Regions from separate parts of the Homo sapiens genome. Here regions 2 and 3 are each linked to region 1. Evidence: promoter capture Hi-C in 16 types of primary human blood cells and fetal thymus (Javierre and others, 2016). All regions are on one chromosome and are shown on one strand. Each heading gives the region's core, a stretch centred on a gene start or on the middle of the fragment in contact. The rest is flanking DNA. Distances are from core to core; before and after follow the strand shown.

What was found. The method cuts DNA at HindIII sites, captures the fragments that hold promoters and counts their contacts. A CHiCAGO score of 5 or more calls a contact.
Region 2: a contact is called between a fragment that was not itself captured here and the fragment with the promoter of RBMXL2 in region 1, in 3 of 17 cell types (M2 macrophages, M0 macrophages and M1 macrophages). The highest score is 9.3, in M2 macrophages.
Region 3: a contact is called between a fragment that was not itself captured here and the fragment with the promoter of RBMXL2 in region 1, in 2 of 17 cell types (naive B cells and total B cells). The highest score is 5.4, in naive B cells.

Annotation. Positions count from the first base shown.
Region 1 is chr11:7,087,693-7,090,306 of GRCh38, reverse strand. RBMXL2 (RBMX like 2) reads right to left here and starts at 1,309. Exons shown (of 1, transcript NM_014469.5): 1 at 1-1,309. The coding sequence starts at 1,186. The coding sequence ends at 8. It also overlaps a transcript of NLRP14 not described here. The HindIII fragment of the contact is 13,917 bases long and covers 1-2,614 here.
Region 2 is chr11:7,980,279-7,982,892 of GRCh38, reverse strand. No RefSeq gene overlaps it. Among named protein-coding and RNA genes, the nearest start is that of EIF3F, 5.8 kb to the left of the region's middle. The HindIII fragment of the contact is 4,433 bases long and covers 1-2,614 here.
Region 3 is chr11:7,635,957-7,638,570 of GRCh38, reverse strand. All of the region lies in intron 14 of PPFIBP2 (PPFIB scaffold protein 2), which reads right to left. Among named protein-coding and RNA genes, the nearest start is that of CYB5R2, 36 kb to the left of the region's middle. The HindIII fragment of the contact is 4,983 bases long and covers 1-2,614 here.

The sequences.
Region 1 (2,614 bases), core at 60-2,559:
TTCCTGCTTAGTATCTGCTCCGGCCTCCTCCTCTCTCCAAGCGGCCTCCTAGACGGCCTCCGCCCCTGGGCACCCTGCAGCCTGACCGGCTGTAAGAATCACGCTGGGGAGGGCAGCCCCTTTCCATGGACAGAGAGAGCCCACGATCTGGTCTGCCCACCCGGTGTCGGCCCCTCGAGTAGCGGTCGCTCCGGCCATAACTGCTGCTGTAACTGTCGCGGCCGCCGCTGTAGGCATCGGGTGAGTAGCCCCGGTACTCCTCGTAGCGGCCTCCTCCTCCGTAAGATGGCGGTGTCCCCCGTCCTGGGGCGGCGCCGCGCAGCTCTCCGTAGCTCTCAAAGGGCTCTCGATGGGAGCCTCTGCTCAGATGATCCCCGTAGTCACGGTCGCGACCTCCGTAGCCGTCTCGGTCGCTGTAGCCTCTCAAGGGACAGTCGTCCCGGACACTGGAGTGGCCGTAATCGCGGTGGGTGTACTCTCCGGGCGAGGGGGCAAAACCCCGGGGTTCGCGGTAGTCTCGGCTCGAGTAGCCGTCTCTGGACGAGTAGCCCTCATCCCGCGGGCCCAGGTAGGGGTCGCGGCGCGGGGGCAGCGGCTCCCGGCGCGGTGGGCCTGAGTAGCCGTCTCGCCCCCGCACGGCCAGGGCCCTCCCGCGCATTCCACCGCCGCTGCTGCGAGCCGGGCCCGACGGCGCGGCCCTCTTGGGGGGTGGGCCGACCCTGCGCGGCGGCGGCCCACGCTTCATGGGCATCGGGGCCCTGGAGGGCCGCAGGTCGAAATCCGCCGTGTAGCCGCCGTCATCATCGGGCCCGCCCCGGGATGGGGAACGCCGCGGGCCGCCGCCACCCCCGCGGGTTCCGCGCAGGAACCTCGGGCGACCGCGGCTGCGGGGAGGCGGCGGGCCCCGCCGGCTGCTCTCGAACGCCGGTTTGGTGGCCTGGGCCACCTTGATGGCCTTACCATCCAGGGACTTGCCGTTCATGTCTCTGGCGGCGGCCTTGGCGTCTGCGGGGCTTTCAAAGGTGACGAACGCGAAGCCCCTCGACTTGTTGGTTTCTCGGTCTTTCATCAGGAGCACCTCGACGATGCGGCCATACTTGCCAAACTCGGCTTCGAGGGCTTTCTCGTCGGTTTCGAGGTTGAGGCCCCCAATGAACAGCTTCCCCGGGCGATCCGCTTCAACCATGTTTGCCGGTCGAACGGTCGGTCAGTGGCGGTGGGAGGCGGTGAGGCGGCGCCAGTCGCAGCCTTCGAGCTCGCTCGTCGAGGGCGGCTCCTACTGGTCAGGCGGCGCCTAGTCGCCGAGTCCACGGAACCGCAGCCGGAGCCCCGCTGCAGGGCGCGCCCCTGCTGCCTGTGATTGGTCGGCTGTTTCCAGAGGGCCAATTCGCCGTCGGGAAAGTCGGCAGTTTTGTGTCTCCTTTTCAGTCTTTAACTTCCTGTTCACCTGACCCGGTCTTAACGGCTTCAATGGCCTCCTGAAAGCTCAGGGAAAAGCCGTTAGGTGGAAAAAAATTTTTTTCTATTAGTTTTAATGAGAACAATTGTAATGATCCCAAACCTAAGCTACCCAAACCATTTTCAAACAGAAAAAAATAGTATGAATTTTTTAAATTACTAAAATTATTAAGTTAAAAATCATTTTTCAATTATTGAAAAATAGAGTAATAACAGTTAACAAGTTTAAATTTTACCTTACTGATCTTTTTAAACTAATCAGCTTTTAGCCTCGTCTATCCTCTGTTTTGATTTTATTTGGTGCTATTGTCTTTATTCTTTCTACATTTATTGGATTTATTGTTTATATTATTTTGTTCTAATTTTTTAAATAAGACACTTAGCACATTAAGAGTTTAAAAAATGTTTCTTCTAATTGTTATATTTAAGGTTAAAACTTATTCTCTATGCACTGGTTAATATCATGCCTTGAGCTGTAATATATGTTGTTTTCATTGTTGTTCAGTTCCTAAGATTTTCTCATCTTTGTTATTTCCTTTTTGGACCATGTATTAAAGAAGTATGTTTGTAAATTTTCAAACATATGTGCCTGTTGGTTATTTTTTAATATGCTCTGTACGATATCCATTGTTTTTCGTTGAGACTTGCTTTGTGACCTAATATGGTGTAATTAATGTTCCATATATACTGAGCAGAAAGTGTATTCTCTAAATGTTGGACAAAGTTCTTTCTTATTTTCTGATATTTAAATCTTCCCTTTTCTAACTTGTTTTTTATTTGATAGAATTGCCAAACACTAGAACTGTCTTAAAATTTACCATAATTGTGGATTTGTAAATTTCTCTTTGTCTTTATGTCTGGTTTTTGCTTCATGTAATTTAAGGTTATATTGTGAGATATATAAAAATTGAGAATTGCTACGTATTTCTGGTGAATACCTTTTTTATGTAATGATCCTCCTTATTCGTAAAAACCTTTTTACCTTAGTCCATTTTGTGTGATGCTTATAACTTTCGGTACTTTTGCAATTTCTTCCTAAATCTTTGCTATCAGCCAAACCTTTCCTTCTTCCTTTTTTCCATCTTTCTTGCCTTTTCTTGTAGTAAGTGATTTGTCTTTGTTTCTTTTTCCTCCACTATGGAAGAAGTTATGCCTT
Region 2 (2,614 bases), core at 48-2,547, 890 kb before region 1:
TGAGCAGACATTACTACCTAAACTAAGAACCTTGTTCATTTAAAAAATAATGAACAGAACTTACTACTCAAACCAAGAACTGGAACACTAGCAACAGCTTACATTCAGTGGTATACTGGTAAATGTTTAACAACCAGCCTCTTGGTTTCAGTATTTGCCAGTTTCCATGGTGTAAATACTCCCACCATGGCTGATTTCAGGCTACCAGTGGTTTGACAAGGGGCTCTTGAAAGTCCTAAAAAATTTAACAATTGGCTTTTGAGACACTATGAGTTATATCCATCAATATTTCACTGCCTTACTGCCCCACCCCTAGAAATAACTACTCACCTGAATTTTGTATCCATCATTTGCATAAAAATGATAGTTTTATTTCAAATATATATGCATGACTAAACAATACATTGTTGAATTTTGCTAGTTTTTGAGCTCAATAAAAAGTGTATCATACTGAAAGTAGTAATTTTTTGAACTTTCTTTTTTCTTTTCAACCTTAGTTTACTGATGTGTATTCATGTTGTTGCATAGAACTGCAGCTCATTCTTCATTTTCACTGATGTATAATAGTATTTTGTATAAATATACCACAATTTATTTTCCATTTTATTGTTGGTGGACATGTGGCTTGCTTAAATTTGTTGATATTATGAAAATTGGTGCTTTAAACATCCTTTTATATATGTATTCTTGGGCACCTGGGAGTTAGTGGTATGGGCTGAATTTTGTCTCCTCAAAATTCTGTGTTGAGTTCTAACCCCCAATATGACTGTATCTGAGATAGGGTCTTTAGGAGGTAATTAAGGTTAAATGAGGTTGTTAAGAGTGGGGCCCTAATCCAATAAGCCTGTGGCCTTATAAGAAGAGTCTTTCTGTGTGTCTCATGTGAGGACACGATGAGAAGGTGGCCATGTGCAAGGCAGGAACAGAGCCCTCACTGAACCTGACCATGCTGTCAACTGCTGCCAGACTTCCACCTTCCAGAACTGTGGGAAAATAAACTTCTGTTGTTTAAATCACCCAGTCAGTGATATTTTGTGTCTCATTTCAATGTGTCAGTCTGAACAGACTAAGACAACTGGGTTGTAAGATATGTGAATATTCATACTTACAAGATAATGCAGACTTGTTTTCCAAAGAGGCTGTTCCAATTTACATGCCTTCTAACAGTATATAAAAGTTCCCATTGATGAATAAACTCTGTCATGTTTTAGTTTTTCCCTCAACTGTAAAAAATGGATGGATAGTTAATGGTATCTATTTGTGTGCTTAATTTGCATTTTCCTGATTACTAATGAGGTTGAAATCACTTCATATGTTTAGTGGCCATATGTATTTGAATCCTGTTAAAAAAAATCTCTCCATATGCTTTACTATTAGGTTGTTTTCTACTAGGTTCTATAGGTTGTTTTCTATTTATTATTTATTTTTGAGAGGGACTTTTTTTTTTAAAGACTTCAGTACATATTTTTATACCAATCCTTTATCAGTCATAAATGTTACAAATATATGCTCTAACTTTTCAGCTTTTCCTTTCACTTTCCTTAAGGTGTATTTTGAAGAACAGATCTTAATTTTAATGTAGTTAAATTTACCAATCCTTTATCTTATGGCTAGGACTTTTATGGGTCTTGTTTAAGAAATTCTTCCTATATGAATACCAGAGACAGGCATTTTATCTACGTATTTTTGATGTTTTTTAAAGTATTGTTTTTATCCTTCAATCTATGTGGGATTTTTAAATTCTATTTTTTGAATTGTCCTTCCTTTCCCTATTCATCTACCGTGCCATTAAAAGAAAAATACAATTGTTCACCACATAGTGATGTTTAGGTCAATGATGGACTGGGCGTGGTGGCTCATGCCTGTAATCCCAGCACTTTGGGAGGCCGAGGTGGGCGGATCATGAGGCCAGGAGATTGAGGCCATCCTGGCTAACATGGTAAAACCCCGTCTCTACTAAAAATACAAAAAAATTAGCCGGGCGTGGTGGTGGGCACCTCTAGTCCCAGCTACTCGGGAGGCCGAGGCAGGAGAATGGCGTGAACCCAGGAGGCGGAGCTTGCAGTGAGCCGAGATCGAGCCACTGCACTCCAGCCTGGACGACAGAGCAAGACTCTGTCTCAAAAAAAAAAAAAGTCTTGGTTATTCTTGGCCCTTTGCTCTTTCCTGTAACATGCTGTACAGGTTTGTAGCGTGGGAGCAATAGGCTATGCCATAAAGTCTAGGTGTGTGGTAGGCTATACCATCTAGGTCTGCGAAAGTACTCTATGATGTTCACACAACAACAAAATTACCTAATAATGAATATCTCAGAATGTATCACCATCATTAGGCAATGCATGACAGTGTATCACAGTTTCATAGTGTCTGGTAGTGTTTCTGGCTCTTGTTTCTATTTTGTCCACTCTGAACCATTGCTGTGCCATATTAATGGCTACATCTCTAGTTTAATTTTAATTTTTTTTTTTTTTTTGAGACAGAGTCTTGCTCTGTCACCCAGGCTGGAGTGCAGTGGCTCGATCTCAGCTCACTGCAAGCTCCGCCTCTCAGATTCGCGCCATTCTCCTGCCTCAGCCTCCCGAGTACCTGGGACTACAGGCGCCCACCACCACGC
Region 3 (2,614 bases), core at 36-2,535, 550 kb before region 1:
TTCCATTTAGCTAAAGGCCAAATATCCAATATATTTCCAATTCAATTTGCTTATAAACATATGTCCTAGAAATTGTTTGAGATTCAGTTCATTCATTGAACATTGACTATTAACTCCCCATAAATAGTTCAGAAAGGAGAGATACAGTGAGAGGAAACTGAATTCTGAAAGAACTGGCTGGTGGAGTAGAAGTAACTAGAACCTTCAGAGAGGAAGGCTATGAGATTTTCAAGTTTGTGATGACCCATGAGGTGAAGATTAGACATGATCAGACATACGGTCAAGACCCACAGTTTCCAAGTGGTAGTTCATGTGCCGGCTGCTCTTCATAATTACCTGGAGCACTTGTAAAACAACATGAATTCCCAGTGCCCAGTCCCTGATTCAGTCCCTCTGGAAGCACACCCCAGATGTCTATATTTTTAACAAGGATCTCAGATTATCTCAGATTATACTAATGCAGTCAGACCCAGGAACCACTGACTGTGAGAAGGTAGTGTTCAAAGATGTTAGAGACCTGAAGGGCATGACTCCAAGCTCCCTATTATATACGACATATGGAGGGGGGAAGAGCTCTCAAAAACGTGTTTCTGGTTGCATCATCACGCATGCTCCCTCAAGGCAGGGCAGAGACAGCCAAGGAAGCAAGTGGGCCACCCGGGGAGCTCCCTGAGGAGCTGAGATGCAAGGAGAACACATACCTAACCCAAGGATGGGGTTTAAAAGGCAGCCCCGACCTGTAAGAAAGACAGCAAAAAGGAATCAAGGACAATGGAAAGGGCTCTCTGAGCTCTGCTCAGGCCAAGAATAAGGGCTGGGAAGAAATGACTCACTGATGTGGAAGGCAGTGCAATGTCAAGACGTGACGCAGAGGAAACAAGGATGCTCAACTCCAGTTCTGTTTCTCCTGTCTCCAAAAAGAACAATCCTCCTGGCTGTAGGGGAACAGAAGCCCCAGCCAAGGGAGTAGTGTAGAACTGATTATCCAGCTGCTTTAAATTACAACAGAGAAGCAGCATGCCAGAGTGGAAAGGGCCTAGGCTTTGAGTCAGACCAACTCAGACAGAGCTGTTTCTCTTCCACCTCTCAGGACCTCTGGTCATTTCTAAATGGAGAATAACAATTCCTACCTCAGGTTTGCCAGGAAATAACATATCCACAGGGCCTAGCACACAGCGGACAGTGGATAAGGAGAAGCACAGGAAATATCACATACCCAGGGCCTAAAGAAATAGCAATCTAGAAGAGGAGTCCTTAGACCACGGCAGGCACTGGTCAGACTACATCTAGAATATCACACTCCAAGTCTGGTCCAGGGCAGAACTTGAAGAATACATTGAGAAACTAGCGCTGAGCCTAAGAAGACTAAGTAGCAGCTTAAAAGGCTTGTGATCCATGCACATGAGAAGGTGATGTTCAGCCCAGAGAACAGAGCACTCAGAGAGGGCATGAGGGACTTAAATTCCAGAGCTGTCAGGAGTAGGGGAGATTGACTTTTTCCATGGGCTAGATGTGGAGGGAGAGGATCAGCAGATGCACATTTTAGAGAAGCTCACACAGCTGCAAAAGAATACAAAGGATGTCTTCCAATGAAATGAGCTCTCAGTCACAGAAAGCAAGAGCCAGTTTAAGCAAGGGCCAGACACTACAGTTAGGGATGCTGCAGAAAGATGACTGTGGAGCGGTTCTGCACCTGTGTAGCTATTCTGGGGAGGACGGTGGTGTATGTGGGTGAGAGGGGAGGGTGGTCATGTTGAATAACTGAGGTTGTATAAGATTGTGATTATGGCCAAAACCATGTAAGAATTAATCTTTTAATCTGGAGCATTTTTTTCTTTATAAATAGTTCTACGTTACTTATATTTCTTGGTAATCAAATTGGCGTCTTAAACCTTGAGCCTGTGAGCTGGGTGTGTTTCCAAAGGAGCAGGTGGTCACTTACAGGTGTGCTTTAGAAACACCTGCGAATGACCTCTGTGACGCTGAGGTGGGAGGGGGGACTGCTGAGCGATTTAACAGCTGACGCCATAGGAAGCCTTTCAGTTCACAAAGGGACCACACCAACCCCAGGCTCAAGGGACTGTGTTGCAGAGCACCTGGGCAGGGGAGCAGGCAGAAGACTTTTGCTATACAGTTCAGATGGCCCAAGGAATGGCTGCCCACTTGAAGAACCAACTGCTACAAATATGGAAGAGTAGAGAAGCCCCTTATATAGATGCAGACGTGCAGAAAAGATCTTTCTCTTACGCAGATGTGGAGGAGCAGAGATGCCCCATTTTACCGTGAAAATATAAAATGACCCTCTCAGGCAGAAGTCAGCAAGCAATGAGAAGCTCCATGTTTCATATGGACATGGAGGCAGGGGACAGAGAAGGGAAATGCCATCAGCCTCACAATACATTTTCCATATAATGTTATAAATGGTGGTTGGGTGTGGCTGAAATCATGCTAATTATATGAATCTTCATTTCTTTATGGGCTCAACATTTTGTGCACTGGCCTAAAAACTTAATCCTCTTCCACAACAGGCTTCCCTGGAGAAGATCAGTCCTAATGGAATTTTTATAACATAACTTGTTCATCAAAGCGGGACTGAGTGTACACTTGTGTTTTT